3 separate regions of the Homo sapiens genome follow, and all the other regions are linked to region 2. Evidence: promoter capture Hi-C in human tissues and cell types (Jung and others, 2019). All regions are on one chromosome and are shown on one strand. The core of a region is centred on a gene start or on the middle of the fragment in contact, and the rest is flanking DNA. Distances in the headings are between cores, read along the strand shown.

Region 1 (3,917 bases), core at 185-2,684, 89 kb after region 2:
TTGATGTGGGCCTTTAGTGCTATAAATTTCCCCTTAACACTGACTTAGCTGTGTCCCAGAGATTCTGGTATGCTGTATCTTTGTTCTTATTAGTTTGAAAGAACGTCTTGATTTCTGACTTAATTTCATCATCTACGCAAAAGTCAATCAGGGGCAGGTTATTCAATTTCCATATAATTGCATGATTTTGAGTGAATTTCTTAGTCTTGATTTCTAATTTGGTTGTGCTGTGGTCTGAGAAATTGGTTGTTATGATTTCAGTTCTTTTGTATTTGCTGAGGAGTGTTTTTTGTTCAATCATGTGATCTATCTTAGAGTATGTGTCATGTGGCAATGAGAAGAATGCATATTCTGTTGTTTCGGGGTGGAGAGTTCTGTAGGTGTCTATCAGGTCCATTTGTTCCAGTGCTGAGTTCAGCTCCTGAATTTTTTTGTGAATTTTCTGCCTTAATGATCTGTCTAATACTGTCAGTGGGGTGTTAAAGTCTCCCACTATTATTGTGTGAGAGTCTAAGTCTCTTTGAAGGTCTTTAAGAACTTGCTTTATAAATGTGGGTGCTCCTATGTTGGGTGCATATATATTTAGGATAGTTAGGTCTTCTTGTTGAATTGAACGTTTTACCATTATGTAATGCCCATCTTTGTCTTTTTTGATCTTTGTCGGCTTAATGTCTGTTTTGTCTGAAGTTAGGATTGCAACCCCTGATTTGTTGTTTTCCATTTGCTTGGTAGATTTTTCTCCATCCTTTTATTTGAGCCTATGGATGTCACTGCATGTGAAATGGATCTCTTGAAGACAACATACCGATGGGTATTGGTTCTTTATCCAGCATGCAACTCTGTGCCTTTTAATTGGGGCATTTAGCCCATTTACATGCAAGGTTAGTATTGATATATGTGGATTTGCTCCTGTCATCATGTTAGCTGATTATTATGCAGATTTGTTTGTGTGGTTGCTTTATAGTGCAACTGGTCTGTGTACTTTGGTATGTTTTTGTAGTGGCTGGTAACAGTCTTTCTTTTCCATATTTAGTGCTGCCTTCAGGAGTTCTTGTGAGGCAGGTCTGGTGGTGACAAATTCCCTCAGCATTTACTTGTCTGAAAAGGATCTTATTTCTCCTTCACTTATGAAGCTTAGTTTGGCCAGATATGAAATTCTGGGTTGGAATTTCTTTAGGAATGTTGAATATTGGCCCCCAATCTCTTCTGGCTTGTAGGGTTTCTACTGAGAGGTCTGCTCTTAGTCTGATAGGTGTTCCTTTGTAGGTGACCTGGCCTTTCTCTCTGGCTGCCTTTAACTTTTTTCCTTTCATTTCGACCTTGAAGAATTTCATGATTATGTGTCTTGGGGATGATCTTCTCATAGAGTATCTTACTCTGAGTTTCCTGGATTTGGATGGCAGCCTCTCTAGCTAGGCTGGGGAAGTTTTCATGGATGATATCCTGAAATCTGTCTTCCAAGTTGCTTACACTCTCCCCATCTCTTTCAGGGACACCAATGAGTCACAGATTTGGATTACAGAATCCCATATTTCCTGGAGGTTTTGTTCATTCCTTTTCAAAGTTCTTTTGTCTCCATTCTTGTCTGACTGTCTTATTTCAGAAAGCTAGTCTTCAAGCACTGAGATTCTTTCCTCCACTTGGTATATTCTGCTATTAATACTTCTGATTGCATTATGAAATTCTTATAGTGTGGTTTTCGGTGCTATCAGGTCAGTTATGCTCTTTTCTATACTGGCAATTTTGTCTGTCAGCTCCTGCATCATTTTATTGTGACTCCTATCATCCTTGGATTGGGTTTCCACATACCCCTACACCTCAATGATCTTGGTTCCTATCCATATTCTGAATTCTATTTCTGTCATTTCAGCCATCTCAGCCTGGTTCAGAACCCTTGCTGGAGAGGTGGGGCAGTCATTTGGAGGAAAGAAGGCACTCTGGCTTGTGTTGTCTGGGTTCTTGAACTGGTTCTTTCTTATCTTTTGGGCTGATGTTCCTATGCTCTTTGAAGTTGCTAACCTTTGGATGATTTTTTTTTCTTTTATCCTATTTGATGACCTTGAGGATTTGATTGTAGTATAAGTTGGATTCAGCTGACTGGCTTTGTTTCTGGATGATTTTAGGGGGCCAAGGCTCAGTTCCCAACTCCCAGACTGTGTGCTCTAACTGGGGTACTTGTATCAGGCACCAACTTTGTTCTCTGGCTCCCGGAGGTTAGGAATCAACTGCACTGAGGGATCAAGGTGCTCCTCACTACCGGTCACTACACTCTGATAGGTGGTGCCAGCCAGTGCATTTTGCAGTGCAGTGGCAGCGGGATCCATTCTTGCTTGCACATGCCAGCAGCCGTGGTGGCAGCAGCACAGGGTGCACGTTCATCGGCTGTGGCAGGGTGCTAGCAAGTGCTGGGGTGCCTGCCTCTGTGCAGGTGTTCACCACAGTGGCAGACGAAAGCACCTGGGGGGCAGGGCCCCCTGCTGGCAACAGCCATGCTGGCGGTGGTGTTGGGATGGAGGTGGAGCACCGGCAGGCCCAGGCCTGTGGCATTCTTTGTGCCCCACAGGCAGGGTGGTCCCTATTCCGTGCCTAGTTTCACTCCCGCAACAGTGTTGGTGCAAGAGTGGGGTGCAAGGGAGGTGGGGCTGGCTGGCTCTGTGTCTGCCAAGGCTCCAACTGCAATGGCAGTCAGCAGGGGGCGTTGGGCAAACGGTACTCCTGCCACAGCAATGGCAGGGCAGGGTGCAAACACACAGGTACACTGGCGGGCAAGGAAAGCAAAACCCACCTGCACAGACATGCACTGGCAAAAGCAAGATGGGGGGTGACAGTGGGCCCTGGAGAAGCTACAGTGTGGGAGGCAGTGGGCAGGCTGGCACAGGGATGTGGGGGCTGCCCTGCTGGAGCTCTCCACCAATCAGGCATGGTCTGCCAGTGCAGAAGCTATGCTGCAGGCCCCCAGGGCACCCAGAGCTGCCCTGCAAGCAGGCGTGGCCAGGCCGGGGCCCTGGGAGAGGCCAGCAGACCAAGGCATGCTCGGGTCAGACTGGCCCCATCTGATGGGCAAGACCACCCCACAAAGATCACATACAACAGCTCCCCTAGGGCTAAAATCTCCTATGGGAGGAATTTGAGCCTGGGGGATGGCCCTCCACTACAGACGCTCCTGCACCAAACCCTCCGGGCTCTGCCTCAGCTGGCTGCTGCCCCCGCACCTTCTCTAGGCAGCTCTCTCTGCCACCTCGAATGTCCATGTGGTTAATCTCCTCCTGCCGGGATTCCAGAGGCCCGTAATGACAGTGGGCTCCTCCTTGCCAGTTCAACTCACCCATTCTCCCTGAGTCTTGGGGACCAGTAACGAGTCCCAGTGCGCAGTGGCCCCGTGCAGGGTTCCCAGCTTCCTCCCGCTTCAGCCTAGCTTCTGTGTCCTCCTGCAGTCCACTCTGGGTGTCCCGCAGTCCACTCCTGGTGCCTTCCCTCTGAAGATCTGTTGGAAACATGCCAGTTGTCTCTGCCCCTCGGTGGCAGCTGTTTCACCTGGCTACGTTGTCGGCTGTCTTCCAACTTTTAGCCTATTTTTCTTTAATTCAGTTAATTAGAGCTCTTTTTTTTTTTTTTTTTTTTTTTTTGAGATGGAGTTTCACTCTTGTTGCCCAGGCTGGAGTGCAATGGCACGATCTTGGCTCACCGCAACCTCAGCCTACCGGGTTCAAGCGATTCCCCTGCCTCAGTCTCCTGAGTAGCTAGGATTACAGGCATGCACCACCACGCCCGGCTAATTTTGTATTTTTAGTAGAGACAGGGTTTCTCCATGTTGGTCAGGCTGGTCTTGAACTCCCGACCTCAGGTGATCCACCCACCTCAGCCTCCCAAAGTGCTGGGATTACAGGCATGAGCCACCGCGCCCGGCAATTAGAGCT
Region 2 (3,621 bases), core at 169-2,668:
TCCAAGCATCAGCCTCTCCCTGCCCACCTGACCAGGCGCCACCCTCTCCACGGGCCAGGAAACATCCTCCCCAGTGCCATCAACCGCCCCACCTTGTGCCTTGCTTCTGAGAACAACGGAACCACCAGCCACCTGCGTCCCCACCTGCCTCCTGCCCCGGACTGTCCCCATCAGGAAGGTTTGCCAGGACTGCAGGGACCCTGAGCGCCCTGAGGGAGGCTGTGGCCCCGGCGAACACCAGGCTCAGCACTCAGCCTGTGACCTGGGCCAGTGGAAGTCCCCTTCTCAGGGCCTCAGTTTTCTGACCTATGGGAAGGACAGTCCCCAGACCGCAAGAGAAAGCAGCCGCCGAGGTTGGTGCAGAGCGGGTTCTCACTACACAGAAGGGCTCATTGCTCTGCGTCTTCTCTGCAGAGGTGCCCGTGCCCATTTCTCCACCACCGCCCTGCTTCCCCAACCCACAGTGCAGACGCGACCCCACAGGATGGCCGTCCTCTGGGCCGGGTGCTCACCCTCACTGCCCACCACAGGGGCCCAGGGCAGATGTGCTTTTGGGTCCTACCTCTCTCGCCTCCCCCCTACACCCAGGCTGCCCACCCTGCTCCCAGCTCTCAGCTCCCAACTCGCCGCTTACAACAAGAACACGCCACATTTGTGCCCACGATGTTGTCTGTAGGCCACCCAGGGCTCCAGGATCATCCTGCAGGGATGCAGGCTGTCCACCTGTTGCAGCTTCTCCACATCCTCCGGCAGCATCACACACACCATGCGTGGTCCTCCCAAGTTGTACCTGTGGGGCCAAGCAGGAGGCCCTGCTGGACGGGGTCATGTCCCTCGTGGCCCCACCCTGCAGTCCCAATCCAAAGTGTCTCCTGTCCACCCTCCCTGCTCCTGGATTAGCGGCTTCACAGCTAAAGCCCTCCTGCTGGCTCCCTGGAACCTTTCAACTTTAGTGCTTCTGAGTCCTGCCCTCTCTGCAGTGAGCTGGGGTTTTCTCTGCACTATCCCCTGCCCTGGCAGCACCACAGACCAGCATGTGCTGCACTCCTTCCCCATCCTCCAAAGGATGCAGAGTGCCGGGACCTGCTGGGAATGGCAGTGCTGAGTGCCTGGCAGGGTCCTGGGCAGCAGGGGCAGGGATCTGGGTGTTCCCAGCGAGGGCCAGGGAGGGCTTTACCTGAAAATGGGCCCCAGCTCCTGGAAGGTCTGGTGCATCTCCAGGTGCAGGTGCTCATAACCCTGCTCCCTCCAGATCTGCAGCAGCCTCAGCCACCTGTTGCCTGGATGCTGGGGCATGGCTTCAAACGGCAGCACCGTCCTAGGGGCCCGAGCGGCTCTAGTGCCCAGTGCCCGTGCCCTTTGCAGGGACAGCCAGGGCGCTGCCACGCACACCTCTGCCTTTGCCCTGAGTGCCATTCCAATGCTCCCTCCACCCTGTTCAGCCCAAATCCTTTTATCTCACCCAGGAACCTGCTCTGGAAACATATCACGTCATGGGAGAACTGGCTCTGGACCTGCCTGAGACTCTCAGAGCGAAGGTCAAGGCTGGAGGCCCCCAGCCAAAGGTAGATGAAGGAGAAGTCAGGTGCCTAATTCCCCATTGCTGCAAGTCCTGCTGGTCTGAGGATGCTGAGAAAAGGCGTGGGGTCTGGACTGGGGGTCCATGCTGGTGGAAGGTGGTGGGACCTGGCCTCTCCTTTCTCCAGGGCTGAGAGGAGTAAAATGGATGGGGACTTTATCTTATCGTGAGATGAGAGGGAGCCTTGGATTCTTTTAATAGACTTTATTTTTATACCACAGATTTAGTTCATTGCAAAATTGATCAAAAACTGCAGAAAATGTCCACGTACCCCCTGCCCTGACACAGGTACACCCTCCACCACAGGAGCGCACTGGTTCCATGTGAGGAATCTCGATACGTTGTTATCAACCAGGGTCCTGGAGTCACATGGGGTCTCCTCCTGGTGGTCAACATGCTGTGGGTTTTGACAAATGTATGTAATTTGTATCCCTCCTTGCAGGATCCTAGGAGTATTTTCACTGTCTTAAAAAGAGGAAAAGAAAACCTGTGCTCTGCCTGCTCATCCCTCCTGCCCCAGTCCCTGACATCTCCGATCTTTTTATCATCACCATGCTTTGGCCTTTTCCAAAATGTTGTATAGTTGGAATGACACCGTTTGTAGCCTTTTCAAAGTGACGTATCTCAGTTAGTAATATGCGTTTAAGGTTCCTCCATTTCTTTTCGTGGCTTGATAGCTAATTTCCTTTTTTTTTTTTTTTTCTAGAGGCTGGGTCTCACTTCTTTAGTGGTTGCCCTAGAGTTTGCAATATACGCTTAAAACTCATCTCTCCAACTCCACCTTCATATAACACTATACAGCTTCAGAGGTAATGCAAGCACTTTATAATCATCAGATATTCTTAGGCTGGGCATAGTGGCTCATGTCTGTCATCCCAGCACTTTGGGAGGCTGATGCAGGTGGATCACCTGAGGTCAGGAGTTCGAGACCAGCCTGGCCAACATGGCAAAACCCTGTCTCTACTAAAAATACAAAATTAGCCAGGTGTGGTGGCGCATGCCTGTAATCTCGGCTTCTCAGCAGGCTGAGTCAAGATGAATGCTTGAATCAAGGAGGCGGAGGTTGCAGTGAGTTGAGATCATCCCACTGCACTCCAACCTGGGCAGCAAAGCAAGACTCCATCTCAAAATAAATAAATAATAAGATATTTTTAATTCCACTCACCCATCCCTTGCATCATTGCTGTCCTTCATTTCACATATACATAACTATGATCATCAAATACACTTTCTGGCTTTTATTTATTTATTTTTATTATTTATTTATTTATTTATTTATTTATTTTTGAGACAGAGTCTCACTCTGTCGCCCAGGCTAGAGTGCAATGGTGTGATCTCGGCTCACTGCGACCTCTGTCTCCCGGGTTCAAGCAATTCTCCCGCCTCAGCCTCCCAAGTAGCTGGGATTACAGGCATGTGCCACCACCACGCCCAGCTAATTTTTGTATTTTTAGTAGAGACGGGGTTTCACCGTGTTGGCCAGGCTAGTCTCGAACTCCTGACCTCAGGTGATCTGCCCACCTCGGCCTCCCAAAGTGCTGGGATTACAGGTGTGGTGAGTCACCGCGCCCGGCCTATTTTTATTGTTGTTGTTTTGTTTTAGCAAACTCTTAGATCAATTAAGATTAAGAAAAAATAAAAGACTTCATTTTCTCTTTACTGATTCCTTCTGAAATGCTCTTCCTTTCTTTATGTAGCTCAGGGTTGCTGACCTGTATCATTTTCTTTCTCTCTGCAGAACTTTTAAAAAACATTTCTGGCAAGTCAGTTCTATTGGCAGCGAATCCCCTCAATTTTTATTTACCTGAGAAAATATTTATGTTCACTTTTGAAGGATAATTTCACAGGATGCAGAATTCTAGGTTGATGTATTTTCTTTTTTCTTCTAACACTTGAAATGTTTCCCTCCACTGTCTTCTTGCTTGCATGGTTTCTGAGGGTAAGTCACATGTAATTCTTAGCTTTACTCCTATATAGATAAGGTGTCCCCCACCCAACCCCTGGTTTCTTTTTCATCTTTGATTTTTCCAAAGTTTGAGTAT
Region 3 (3,654 bases), core at 345-2,844, 83 kb before region 2:
AAGGCCAAGTAGAATCCCCCCCAGTGTGGCAGATCCCAGGAGACAGAGTGCCCCTAGAAGGAGCCTGCCACAGTCATACCACTGGTCTCCATCATAAGCCAGTGGCCCCGATGGAACAGGTGTGTGGGATGAGGTTCAAGGGGAAAGTCAAAGCCTAGAAAGGGAAACCCGTCCGAGCTGAGGATTCGGTGTGAAAGGTGAGCATACAAATTGGGTCACCCTTGTCACACCCAACTAAGGCAGAGTGCCAGGTAGGGAGACCATTCAGCACTCAGGATAGAAAACATTGCTCCAAGAATGTACTTCTCTGAGGCCTGACTGCTGAAACTGTCTGCGGTAACCTGAAACCAGTTTTATCTGATGGCTACTGAGACCACCTGCTGCAACTCTAAGCCTCGGTTCACCCACTGCCGTCACTGATTCACTCATCAACCAGAGCTTGCCAGCTCCCCAAAATCCTACTAGTGCCAATGAAACTCAGACAGCAATATGTACTATTTCTCTTCTTTATAAAAAAGAGACATAGTTCCTTTTTTTTTGAGACAGAGACTTGATTTGTCCTGCAGGTTGGAGCACAATGGCACGATCTCGGCTCACTACAACCTCCACCTCCTGGGATCAAGGGATTCTCCTGCCTCAGCCTCCTGAGTAGCTGGGACTACAGGCACACACCACCACACCCAGCTAATTTTTGTATTTTTAGTAGAGACGGGGTTTCACCATGTTGATCACTCTGGTCTTGAACTCCTGACCTCAAATGATCTGCCCGCCTCAGCCTCCCAAAATGCTGGGATTACAGGTGTAAGCCACCGCGAATTTAAAAAAGCCTTTTCTTTGTTCTTTGGACATACTGAAGGCCAGCCAGTCTGCCCCCGTGCCCCTAATTGCAGTTATTTCCTCCCAAATAAAACATTTCAATTTCAGAAATTCACCTATTTTATATGACTTCGACAAGAGCCAAGCCACACTGTGTAGGAGATGCTCGGGTGAAGCCAGCTGTCCCTGGCCACACACAGCTTGAAGGCAAAATGGCAGGAGCTCAAGCGAAAGCCAGGCAGGTCTCCCCCTGAAACCTCTGCACAGGTGGGCGCTGGCGGGGCTGAAGGGCAAGGGCACCGCTCAAGCTGGCTTTGGTCAGGGTTAGGGACAGGGCCGGCTCCAGAGGCGACGGGGTCGCACCCTGAGCGGAGGGGCTCCCGGGGTCCCCAGGGGTTATGGTGATGGCGGGACCCCCTAGAGGGAGGGTCCAGGAACGAGGCAGGTGGACTGGGACCTTGAGGGCAGGGTGGGCCTGGGCGGTGCCAACAGGCTGCCGAGGGTGGCTGCTGTCCCGTTTCTCCAGCAGCCAGGGCCGTGCGCTTCTAGAACATTCCCCGTGGCTTTCCTAAAGGGAGCGTGGATGGAGCCAGGGTGTGCAGATTTCTGTGAGAAATATTTTCACCTGGGAGCCCCAAGGGGGACCCTGCCCACCTTTGAACACTGGCAGATGGGCTGGAGGCCTGGAGCCTGGGGACGGGGCTTTGAGGGTCCGGAAGGAGGGCGGGGCTGTGCGGCCGGCGGAGGCCCCCGAAAGTTCCAGAAAGCGGGTGGGGAGGTCGGCGCGGGAGGCTCAGATGGCTGGAGGCGGCGGGCACGCACACTGCGGGGCTCCGAGGGGCACAGGTCAGTTTCCTGAGGCGGGTCGGGACCCAGGCGTGAGACTGGAGTCTGCCCAGGGGCCCAGCTGAGGCAGCCTCCTCGTCAGCTGCTTGGGCCGCCAGGACGCCGCCGGGGGTGCGCCGCGCTTCCCTGGATGGGGTGCCCCCACTCCCCTCGGAGCCCCAGGGAGACCCCCCGAACTCAGCTCCTCTCAGGGGTGCCAGGGGGACCCCTCAAAACTCCACTCCCCGCAGGTTCCTGGGGAGACGCCCCCTGCTCCATTCCCCTCAGGGTCCCAGGGAGACCCCCTAATTCAGCTCCTCTCAGGGGTACTGGGGGACCTCTCGAGCTCCACTCCCATCAGGGTCCCAGGGAGACCCCCCAACTATGCTCAGGGGTCCCAGGGAGATGCCAGCACCCCAACTCCGCTTCCCTGGGGCCCCCCTCCCCTTACAGCTCAACTTCCCTCGAGAGTCTGGGGCTGGGGCTCCGTTCAGTTCTTGAGTCCCCTTCCCTCGGGGTGTCCCGGGGCCGCCCACCCCCACACTGTCTGTGATTCCCCAAGGCGCGGGTCTCGGGCCGCAGCCTGTTCCACGTTCTGCTGCTCGTTCTTTTCTGGCTCCTTGCTTTCGAAGGAGAGAAGGAGGCCTTCGTTTCCAGTCTTTTTGCCTTTTCTAATGGAGCCCTGCTTTTCCTTCCGTGTCCCTTCAGGCTACTTCTGCCAGGTTTCTATTTTTCATTCTTTATTATGACTTTGCCCAAAATATTCTTGACTTCTATTGAGAAGGATTTGGGGGTCTATTTCTTATTTGGAGGTGTGTTCTTAAGTTCCAAACAGATGAGGATTTTCCAGTTAATCCTTCTGGGGTGACTTATTGCTTAATGCCACCATAGTCAGAAAATGGACTCTCAGTGTCCGAAACTGCATTCGGCTCTGAAGTGTCTGTCCTTGTCACCTCTTGCAATGTTTTTTGCCTGGAAGCCTGCACTCGCCGACGCTGACGTAACTGTTTCTGCCTTTCAGTTCTACAGCCTCCTTTGCTTTGTGATATTGTCATATACTTTATTTCTATATATGTTATGAACTCAATATTTCTTGTAGTGGGTCTGCTGATAATAAGATATTCCTACTCTTTTTGTCTGAAGCCATCTTAAGCTTACCCTGTATTTGCCCCATGCATCTCTTCCGTTTCACGGTTCCTGAGTTGTCACCTTTGTGATAAACTGGTAATAGTAAGTAAACTGTTTTCTTGTGCTCTGTAAGCTGTTCTAGCAAATTATCTAGGAGGAGGTGGTCTTGGAAACCCTTGATTTATAACTGGGCAGTCAGAAGTACACGTGGCCCAGACTTGTGATTGGCATCTGAAGTGGGGGCATTAGGGTGGGACTGAGCCCTTCACCTGTGGGGTCTGCCCTGCTCAAGGCAGTGTCAGAATTGAATTGAAATGTTGGACGGTCAGTGTCCAGAGAGTTGGAGAACTGGTTTGTGTGTAAAAACTCACATATTTAGGGTCAGAAGTATGGTGGTGTAGAAATAATTCATACTATAGTCCCTTATTTCTGCCTCTTACACATCCTGTTATTTTTAAAATTTTTTCATCTTTAAAAAATCAATTTAGTAATCTTTTTCTCTTTAATGCTCTCATTAGAATTTTTAAAGTACTTGTATGCTAATGTCAACATTTGAGTGAACTGTGGGTTTATTTCTATTGTTGTTTTATTGATTAGCAATAATTTATTCCTAATTCTTACATATCCTGTGATGTTTTTATTGAACATCTTGCGTTGCGTACAAAATAGCTGGAAAGCTTGGAGGTGGTTGTATGTTACTACTGGGGATGTGTGCCCTCTCCTCTCTCCAGGAGCCTGTGGGAAGGCCTGGACTACTGGCTTGCTCAAAGGTGGAGGCCAAGTGGGATGCTTGCAGCTTCAACCTGACCCTGGCTGCCTCTGGAGCCGGCCCTGTCTCTAACCCTAACTGAAGCCATCTTGAGCGGTGCCCTTCCCCTTCTCCTA

The links. The method cuts DNA at HindIII sites, captures the fragments that hold promoters and counts their contacts. A contact is called where the count stands out against the background at its distance.
Region 1: a contact is called between a fragment that was not itself captured here and the fragment with the promoter of CYP11B2 in region 2, in 4 of the 25 tissues and cell types used here (H1 embryonic stem cells, pancreas, spleen and 1 more).
Region 3: a contact is called between the fragment with the promoter of GML here and the fragment with the promoter of CYP11B2 in region 2, in 2 of the 25 tissues and cell types used here (mesendoderm cells and neural progenitor cells).

Annotation. Positions count from the first base shown.
Region 1 is chr8:143,005,724-143,009,640 of GRCh38, forward strand. The region is part of intron 1 of LY6E-DT (LY6E divergent transcript); the gene reads right to left. Among named protein-coding and RNA genes, the nearest start is that of LY6E-DT, 11 kb to the right of the region's middle. RefSeq lists enhancers at 1,999-2,812, 2,813-3,625 and a silencer at 2,668-2,757. The HindIII fragment of the contact is 5,135 bases long and covers 1-3,917 here.
Region 2 is chr8:142,916,425-142,920,045 of GRCh38, forward strand. CYP11B2 (cytochrome P450 family 11 subfamily B member 2) reads right to left here and starts at 1,419. Exons shown (of 9, transcript NM_000498.3): 1 at 1,178-1,419; 2 at 635-790. The coding sequence starts at 1,416. RefSeq lists a promoter at 1,418-3,438 and an enhancer at 2,425-2,706. The HindIII fragment of the contact is 14,293 bases long and covers 1-3,621 here.
Region 3 is chr8:142,833,207-142,836,860 of GRCh38, forward strand. GML (glycosylphosphatidylinositol anchored molecule like) reads left to right here and starts at 1,595. Exons shown (of 4, transcript NM_002066.3): 1 at 1,595-1,662. The HindIII fragment of the contact is 25,891 bases long and covers 1-3,120 here.